Linked DNA regions of Homo sapiens: all the other regions are linked to region 2. The links are contacts of gene promoters, found by promoter capture Hi-C in blood cells and fetal thymus (Javierre and others, 2016). All regions are on one chromosome and are shown on one strand. Each heading gives the region's core, a stretch centred on a gene start or on the middle of the fragment in contact. The rest is flanking DNA. Distances are from core to core; before and after follow the strand shown.

Evidence for each region. Contacts are between HindIII fragments. The CHiCAGO score rates a contact against its expected background, and 5 or more counts as called.
Region 1: a contact is called between the fragment with the promoter of EID2B here and the fragment with the promoter of LGALS16 in region 2, in 7 of 17 cell types (non-activated CD4 T cells, activated CD4 T cells, naive CD4 T cells and 4 more). The highest score is 9.1, in non-activated CD4 T cells.
Region 3: a contact is called between the fragment with the promoter of CLC here and the fragment with the promoter of LGALS16 in region 2, in 1 of 17 cell types (fetal thymus). The highest score is 5.7, in fetal thymus.

The regions. Positions count from the first base shown.
Region 1 is chr19:39,531,311-39,534,122 of GRCh38, forward strand. It overlaps EID2B (EP300 interacting inhibitor of differentiation 2B), which reads right to left and starts at 1,542. Exons shown (of 1, transcript NM_152361.3): 1 at 1-1,542. The coding sequence starts at 1,492. The coding sequence ends at 1,007. The HindIII fragment of the contact is 7,702 bases long and covers 220-2,812 here.
Region 2 is chr19:39,654,577-39,657,534 of GRCh38, forward strand. LGALS16 (galectin 16) reads left to right here and starts at 1,337. Exons shown (of 4, transcript NM_001190441.3): 1 at 1,337-1,400. The coding sequence starts at 1,386. The HindIII fragment of the contact is 3,782 bases long and covers 1,251-2,958 here.
Region 3 is chr19:39,736,295-39,739,363 of GRCh38, forward strand. It overlaps CLC (Charcot-Leyden crystal galectin), which reads right to left and starts at 1,735. Exons shown (of 4, transcript NM_001828.6): 1 at 1,644-1,735. The coding sequence starts at 1,658. The HindIII fragment of the contact is 8,050 bases long and covers 1-3,069 here.

The DNA of each region.
Region 1 (2,812 bases), core at 292-2,791, 120 kb before region 2:
CTACAAGCGCGTGCCACCACACCCAGTTAATTTTTTATTTTTCGTAGAGATGGGGTTTCACCATGTTGGCCAGGGTGGTCTTGAATTCCTGACCTCAGGTGATCCACCCGCCGTGGCCTCCCAAAGTGCTGGGATTACAGGCGTAAGCCAGTGCGCCCGGCCGATACTTTTTTTTGTTGAGTCTTGTGAATAGAATACATATTCTAGAATAAAATAAAAAGCTTAAAATTAACAAAAAACAAGTTTATTCCACACCTACCCAATTTCACATAGACTTGAAAACACTGATCATATAATACGTGGTTTTTTCTATTGAATATTTACTGTTCATCTAAAGTACCTCAGAAAACACAAATATGAATCTTACACTAGGATTTGTTGACATGACCACAAATTGTGAAATTTCAAAGTCCTCTCAATAGCCTTCCAATCCTAGTAACTCAGGTACACCTGGATTCCTGACAACTCTATTTCTTTGTTTTCTTTCATCACTTAGGTTCATTTCTATGGGTTCTGTTATTGGCATTTTTTTTTTCTCATATCTTTGCAAAACCATCCTTTATGGTGAAAGTCATGAAGGATTCTTCACAAATGCAGGAAAATGCATTGCTAACAAAGTGCTAAGTCAGAAGTGTCTTGGGACCTGTTTGAAAACAAGATTCGGCCGGGCGCGGTGGCTCACGCCTGTAAAGTAATCCCAGCACTTTGGGAGGCCGAAGCGGGAGGATCGCTCGGGTCCAAGCGTTCGGGACCAGCCTAGGGATGCGAGACTCCCTTCTCTATTTAAATAATACTAAAAAAGAAGAAAGAAAACAAGATTCAACAGTCTTGTCTGTTTCCATTTCGGAGTGTGCTTCCTCCTTCAATTGCACATTGCCGTATTCCCTTCCAGTTTGCATTCCCCCTAATGACTGAGTTAACTAAACTGGCACAGCCTGCCTGTTCTTTTGATCCCAAAAGGGTCACTTGGCTATTCCTTGCCACCAATGTCATCATCACAGCCGACTCAGTCGGCCAGAGGACTGAGGGCCTCGGAGGCAGTCAGCGCTACCGTAAACGCGACAGCAGCGAAGTCCATCTGCGGGGGATCCGCGTCAAAGGCTGCTTCCCTCGCCTTGCAGCCTTCCACAAACAGCCTGCGGCGTTCCTCGAAATCCCGTAGTAATCTGACCGGAATCATGGAGCTACCATCCAGATACTCGCGGAACAACAGCTGCCGGTTAATTTCTAAGAAAGCGAGCTGCTGATGGGGGTCTGGCGCGGAGGCCAGGCCCGGGACGCTGCTGGGGATGGGCCCGGGCACAGGGCCCGGCATCCGCGCCATGGACCGCGCAGCTTCGGCCACTGGGCCTTCCCGAGCCTCCTGCACCCGAACCCCGCCGCCGACTGCCCCCCGCAGTACGTCGCTGACGCCACTCGCGGTGCCCACCTGTGGGACACTGCTATCTCCGGGGAGCTCGGACATCTCCAACAGCCCAGTCGGCTCCGCCATAGTCCCAGCGTTTCTACGGAGACTGGAATAACGGCACTGCACTGCTGTATGCGAGACCTGCGCATGCGCGAGTCTCAGTGAGCGCGTAAACGCTGTGCGTGCCAGAGTGTGCGCATGCGTAAGCACGGTGGCCAATCCTCTAGCGTTCCCTAGCGGTCCTGAGTAGCCATTACGTCTGTAGCCGCCTCTGGTCCTCTGAGCGCCTGAGGACCTGCGGACTGCGCGGTATCTTAAATTACAACCACTTCAGTATTAATGTAAAGTTCCTTATACGGTCATTTTCCAGCTCCTGTCTTTTTTTTTTTTTTTTCAGACTGGGTCTCGCCCTGTCGCCTAGGCTGGAGTGCAGTGGTGCGATCTCGGTTACTGCTGCTTTGACCTCCCAGCCTCAAGCCATCCTCCTGCCTCAGCCTCTGGAGTAACTGGAACTACAGGTGCACACAACCACACCCAGCTGATTTTTTATTTTTTGTAGAAATTGGGTCTCACTATGTTGCCCAGGCTGGTCTCGAACTCCTGGACTCAAGTGATCATCCTGCCTTGGCCTCCCAAAGTGCTGGGATTACCGGCCTGAGCCACTCGGCCTGGCCTGTAAGTAATATTTTGACACTGGAAGTTTGGGGGTTTCCCAAAACCACCTTTAGGTTTGATAATTCCCAGAGCTCATTGAAATCTGTTATATTCACAGTCATGCTTATTACAGGCAAAGGACACAGATTAGAAGAGATGTATAAGGCACAATCTGGGATGGGGAGGGTTCCAAATGTGAAGTTCCTGTGTTCCTAGGGATGTGTTACCCTTTGTCGTCCATGTGTGGCAATAAGTGTGGGGGTAGTGCTAACATAGGACTCTCACCCAGGCTTTGGTGTCCAGAGTTTTTACTGGGGTTTTACTACCTAGGCATGCTTGATTAAACCATCGTCCATTTTGTTGAAGTCAATCTCCAGCCTCCTACCTGATATCACATGGCTCCAAGCCCCAACTCTCTAATGATATGGTTAGCCTTTCTGTGTGGCTAGCTCTGATCCTGATGATAACCCAAAACGTGAAAGTCTATGTTCCATTTAAAATCAGTCAGCTGTGGCTGGGTGTAGTGGCTCATGCCTGTAATCCCAGCAAGTTGGGAGGCAAAGGTGGGAGGATCGCTTGAGCCCATGAGTTTGAGACCAGCCTGGGCAACATAGTGAGACCCCTGTCCCTACAGAAAAAAAAAATTAGGCAGGCATGGTGGCATGTGCACCTGTAGTCTCAGCTATTCAGGAGGCTGAGGTGGGAGGATGACTTGAGCTTGGTAGGTGGACTGTGCAGTGAGCTATGATT
Region 2 (2,958 bases), core at 87-2,586:
ATTAAAAAGTCAGGAAACAACAGATGCTGGGGAGGATATGGAGAAATAGGAACGCTTTTACACTGTTGGTGGGAGTGTAAACGAGCTCAACCATTATGGAAGACAGTGTGGCCATTCCTCCAGGATCTAGAACTAGAAATATCATTTGACCCAGCATCCCATTACTGGGTATATACCCAAAGGATTATAAATCATGCTACTATAAAGACACATGCACACGTATGTTTATTGCAGCACTGTTCACAATAGCAAAGACTTGGAACCAAACCAAATCCTTCAATGATAGACTGAATTAAGAAAATGTGGCACATATACACCATGGAATTCTATGCAGCCATAAAAAAGGATGAGTTCATGTCCTTTGCAGGGAGATGGATGAAGCTGGAAACCATCATTCTGAACAAACTATCACTAGCACAGAAAACCAAATACCGCATGTTCTCACTCATAGGTGGGAATTGTACAATGAGAGCACTTGGACACATGGCAGGGAACATCACACATGGGGGACTATCATGGGGTGGGGGGCAGGGGGATGGATAGCATCAGGATAAATAATGTAAATGACGAGTTAATGGGTGCAGCAAACAAACATGGCACATGTATACCTGTGTAACAAACCTGCACATTGTGCACATGTACCCTGGAACTTAAAGTATAATAATAATTTTTTTTAAATCTCACCTTTCTCCCAGAATCTGCAGAAGAAACAGTCTCCCTCAAACTTTGATTTACATGGACACCAACAGAGGGTGTAGCTAGAGCCCAAGTGTGTGACAGTCAGATGAAAGTGGCCCTTACCTAGCAAAGCCAAGTGGCTTAGTGTGGGGCAGGTTCATGCAAGAAATTTCTCTACTTCTCTCTGCAGATCCTCCTCAGGATCAAGGTCAGTGCTCTCCCAGAACATTTAAAGGCAGAGAGAAGAATTACCTTTTAGGGCTAACTTGTTTCCCCCAAAATCTCCAACTTTTTTTTTCTTGTTTAGCCATTGTACAAAATTGGGAAAATGTACACCTTCTGGGTAGATTCTGCATAGTGGAGAAAAGGCTTGAGAGGCACAAAGGCTGGGCTTTACAATCACTACCCCTCACTCCATCATCCTTATCTATGCATTTCCCTGGTAACCCAATCCACAGTCTGGTACCTTCCCCAATGTCATTTCTGCTGCATTACAGACACAGACTTGCAAATAGTTATGGTTGTGACTGAGTTTCTTCGTGACACCTGACCCTTTCTCATGCTGCAAGGAAAGCTTGCTGGGAGGAGCATGGAATCTGGAATGATGCCAGAGGGCAAAGCTGAAAGGGGTCATTTAAGTGCTGCAACTCAGAGATTCACTCAGAAGACTGGACACAATTCCGAAGGTCGCCCAGAAGGAGAGGACAATGTCATTTCTAACTGTGAGTTGAAAAGGCACAGCCTTCAATAATCTCAAGTCACACAAAACCAAGAAAGATGTGGGGTATTTTATGAGATGAAAATATGAGCATTCCTACTGTGAATGCTTTACTGAGAGTTGTGGGTGTGTGGAAGAGAAACACTGAGGCTGGGTATCTGAGATGCTTGTAGCATGTGGGTTGTGGATCCTGGACAAATGTAACCCTCTGTGAGCATGAGGTGGTATCTGATGAGAGTGAACTCTGATGAGATGATGTGACTTTAGGTGGGAGGTGGATGGCACACCAGGTCAAGCAGGTGTTTGTGTGAGTGTAAGGGGGGTGATTGTACTTTGTCTTCCTCTTTGTGATGTGAGTGTGTGTTAGCACAGCCAGACCAGTGCATGGTCATCTTTATGTGCGCAGTGAGCAGGTGTGTGTAACTCAGTGAGTGGCATGGCTCTGTGTGACTGTGGGTGTGTGTGCTGGGATGTGACTGAGTATTGAAGGGAAAACACGCATGTGGCCTTCTGTGCATGTGAAGGTTCCTCCCCACACAACAGCACTTCTGATGAAGGAACTGTGTGTCTTTTCATGTGTGGCAATGTGGATCCCAGGTGGCTTAACTGGTAGGGATCTTGGAGATTGTGAGTTACCAAGGACTTGTTTCAGATCACTTATGAGAGCAGAATGTATGATCAGTAGATGTCTCTTCCCAGTAAGAGTGGGGAAGAGGAATGGAGACTATGGGGGTGATGGATCCTCAGGTGGGGTCTGCACAGAGTGACCACTGTCTCTTGCCTCCCAGGCTCAGCTTCCCTGTCCCCAGCCTATCCTGTCCTTTTCATTGTGGGACAGGAGGTTTGCTAGAGAAGGATATTAGAGGCCATGGTTTCAGAGACTGAATCACGTAAAATATCCACTGTAAGCTATGTCTCAACTGAGTCTAAACTTGTTCCTCCACCCATGAAGGAACAAGTCTAGTCTCAGTTCAGACAGAGCTTACAGTGGATATTAATCAACAAAGCAGCTGGGTTCACTGGCTCACGGCTATAATCCCACCAATCTGAGAGACAAAGATGAGAGGATAACTTGAGGCCAGAAGTTTGAGGCCAGTCTGGGTATCATAGTGAGACCCTTTCTTTAAAAAACTTTAAATATCAGACTGCCAGAGTGGCAGGCACCTTTTGCCCCAGCTACACAAGAGGGGGCAGATGTGTGAGGATCACTGCAGCCCAGGAGTTCAACGTTTCAATGAGCTATGATCGCACCACTGCATGTCAGCCTGGGCAACAGAGCAAGACCCTATCTCAAAAATACAGAAAAATCATCAACCACTTGTAGTCATTGTAGAAATCAATCATTCCCTCCAGTTATGTCCCTGACCCACAGGCTTCACTTGTGCAAGTACTGGGGCTGTGCTGTCAGTAATGTGTGCCACTTCTTGGAAGGACGTCCATTGCCCTTGATGATTGTGAGAGTTGAAAATAAGGCAGATCAGTGTTTCAGGAGGACTCCCCTGTTCTGTTAGGTCACCCCTAACAGGCCCTACACATGCCAGGGATTAGGGTAAAAGTTTTAC
Region 3 (3,069 bases), core at 485-2,984, 82 kb after region 2:
TCATCATGGGCAATGGACGTCCTTCCCAGAAGGGGCACACATTGCTGAGAGCACAACCGCAGTACTTGCACAAATGAAGATTGTGGGTCAGGGAAGTTATTGGCTAGAATCTATAAATGGATGGTATTTTTCTTTTTTGAAACAGGGTCACACTGTCACCTAGGCTGGAATGCAGTGGCACCATCAAAACTCACTGCAGGCTGGGCGTGGTGGCTCACGCCTGTAATCTCAGCACTTTGGGAGGCCAAGGTGGGTGCATCACTTGAGGTCAGGAGTTCGAGACCAGCCTGGCCAACATGGAGAAACCCCATCTCTACTGAAAATACAAAAATTAGCCAGGAGTGGTGGCACAAGCCTGTAATCCCAGCTACTCGGGAAGCTGAGGTATGAGAATCGCTTGAACCCGGGAGGTGGAGGTTGCAGTGAGCCGAGATTGCACCACTGCACTCCAGCCTGGGAAACAGAGCGAGACTCTGTCTCAAAAAAAAAAAAAAAAAATTACTGCAGGTTTGAAGGCCTGGGCTTCAGTGAACCTCTTGCATATGCCCCCCAGCAGCTGGAACTACGGTATGCAACACCACATTCAATAAATTTTTAAATTTTTGGAAAGATGAAATCTTGCTATGTCTCCCAGGCTGGTCTACCAGTCCTGGCCTGACATGGGCCTTTCAATTCGGCCACCCAAAGTGCTGAGACTACAGGCCTCAGCAAACATCTTGATGAATATCCACTGTAAGCTCTGCCTTGTACCTTCCTGGTTTTGGGTGATTCAGTCTCTTAAATCAAGTCCCTCAATGTCCTTCTCTAGCATCCTGGCACTCAATGGGAAGGCCAGGCTAGGGTAGGAGACAGGGAGAGACCTGAGGCTGGAGGCAGGAGCCAGTGGTCACTGTGTGCAGATTCCACCTAAGGAACCATCAGCCCCATCGTCTGTTTCTCACCCCCATTCTGCTTGGGAAAAGGCACCTGAGAATTCATGCATTCTGCTCTCATAAATGCTCAGAGATAAGTCCTCGGTAACTCAAGGGCCCCAAGATCCCACAAGTTCTGTCACCGGGGATCCACAGTGATGCACAAGGGAAGTTAGACAGAGTACTGCTATGTGGGGAGGAACCTTCACATGCACAGAAGGCCACATGCATGTTCCCAGTTCAACACCCAGTCACATTCCAGCACACACACTCACAGTCACACAGAGCCGTGCCACTCACTGAGTCACACACACCTGCTCACTGTGCATATAAAGATGCTCATGCACTGGTCCGGCTGTGCTCACACACACACTCACATCACAGTCATGAAGACAAAACACAGTCACCTGATTACAATCACTTACACACCCACCCATATCCTGGAGGGCCATACACATCCCGTCTAAAGTCACATCATTTTTAGCAGAGTTTACTCTCATCAGATACCATCACATGCTCACAGAGGGTCACAATGTTCCAGCATCCACACCCCCTACCCCCCTACCCCAGGAGCATCTCAGATACCATAGCCCTAGGGTCTCTCTTCCACACACCCACAACTCTCAGTAAAGCATTCACAGTAGAAATTTTCATATTTTCATCCCATAAAATCTCCCTCTTCCCTTTTCTGTGTGACCTGAGATTATTGAAGGCTGTGCCTTTTTAACTCACGGGTAGCAGGGACATTGTTGTCTCCTTCTGGGTGGCTCTTCTGAATTGTGTCCAGACTTCTGTGTGAATCTCTGAGCTGCAGAATTTAAATGGCCCCTATCAGCCCTGCCTCTGGCTTTATTCCTGATTCCAAGCCCCTCCCAGGAAGGTTTCCTCACACAGTGAGAAGGGGTGGGGTGTCAGAAACAGACTCAGTCACAACCACACCTGTTTGGAGGCCTGTGCCTGTGATGCAGCAGAAACGACAGTGAGGGAGGTACTGGAGGAGGAAGGGGTCACCAGGGAAATGCACAGATAAAGACGATGGAGTGAGGATGAGTGGTGTGAGTTCCAGCCTCCATGCTTCTCATGAAGCCTTTTCTCCACTGTGCAGAATCTACCAGGAAGGTGTGCGTTCTCCTAACCTGTGCAATGGTAAAAAGCTGGAGATCCTGGGGGCAAGGCACTTGGCTTTGAAAGAAAATCCTCCTCCTCCTTCTCCAGTGGTTCTGGGAGAGCATAGATCTTGATCATTCGCAGGACCTGGGGACAGAAGTAGAGAAAACACTTGTGTCTTCTTTACCCACCCTCAGATCCCTTGGCTCTGCCAGGTGAGAGCCACTCCCACTCTGTCTCTCAGACACCTGGGCTTTAGGTACGCCCTCTTATTTCCCTATTTCTTTTCATGTGAATCAAAATCTGAGGCTGTCGTTCTCCTGCAGATTCTTGGAGAAAGGTGAGATTTCTCACTCATAAGTGGGAGCTAAGCGATGAGGATGCATTAGCATTAATATTAGTTGTGCTTGACCCGACAATAAATTCCACTTTCCCTGATCTAAAACCTTGACAATTCATTTCCAAGCATGCACTCCAAGATTCTGCTCATATAAATCAGCACAATCACACAGTTCTTTTGGTATATAACGTATTTCCTTAAGATTAATTTGTAATGTCATCCCACTGCATTCCTTGGGTTTTGACTCTGGGTATGGACATGGAAGCAATGAAAAGGGTCAGAGGCCACAATTAAGGAGCTTTGGAAACCCCGTTCTAGGCAACCACCCTCACACCCTGCCCAGAACTGTAGCTTGTAAGAAATTACCACAGAAGGGAAAGAGGAACTGCTTTTCCTTGCAACAGATATGCAATAGAATTTTGAGTAATATCCCAGCTATTCATCTGAACTGGGGAAGAAATATCAGTTCAGGGCGTCTGGCCACCTAGTAAGCTGTGGATAAAGATGTTGATGTTATTTACTTCTCAGGCATTCCAGCAATCCTTTCAGTGATGCAGAGAGATTGATCTTCTTTAACTTCCATATCCTCTGCACAATAGCCCATACTTCTGCTGGTTGCAACTATTTCTTCAGAAATCCATTATGCCCTACGACTTGCTTTCAGTCTTTCTTTTCAACTACATCTTTCCAAGCACACACTGTTCCCCCGAA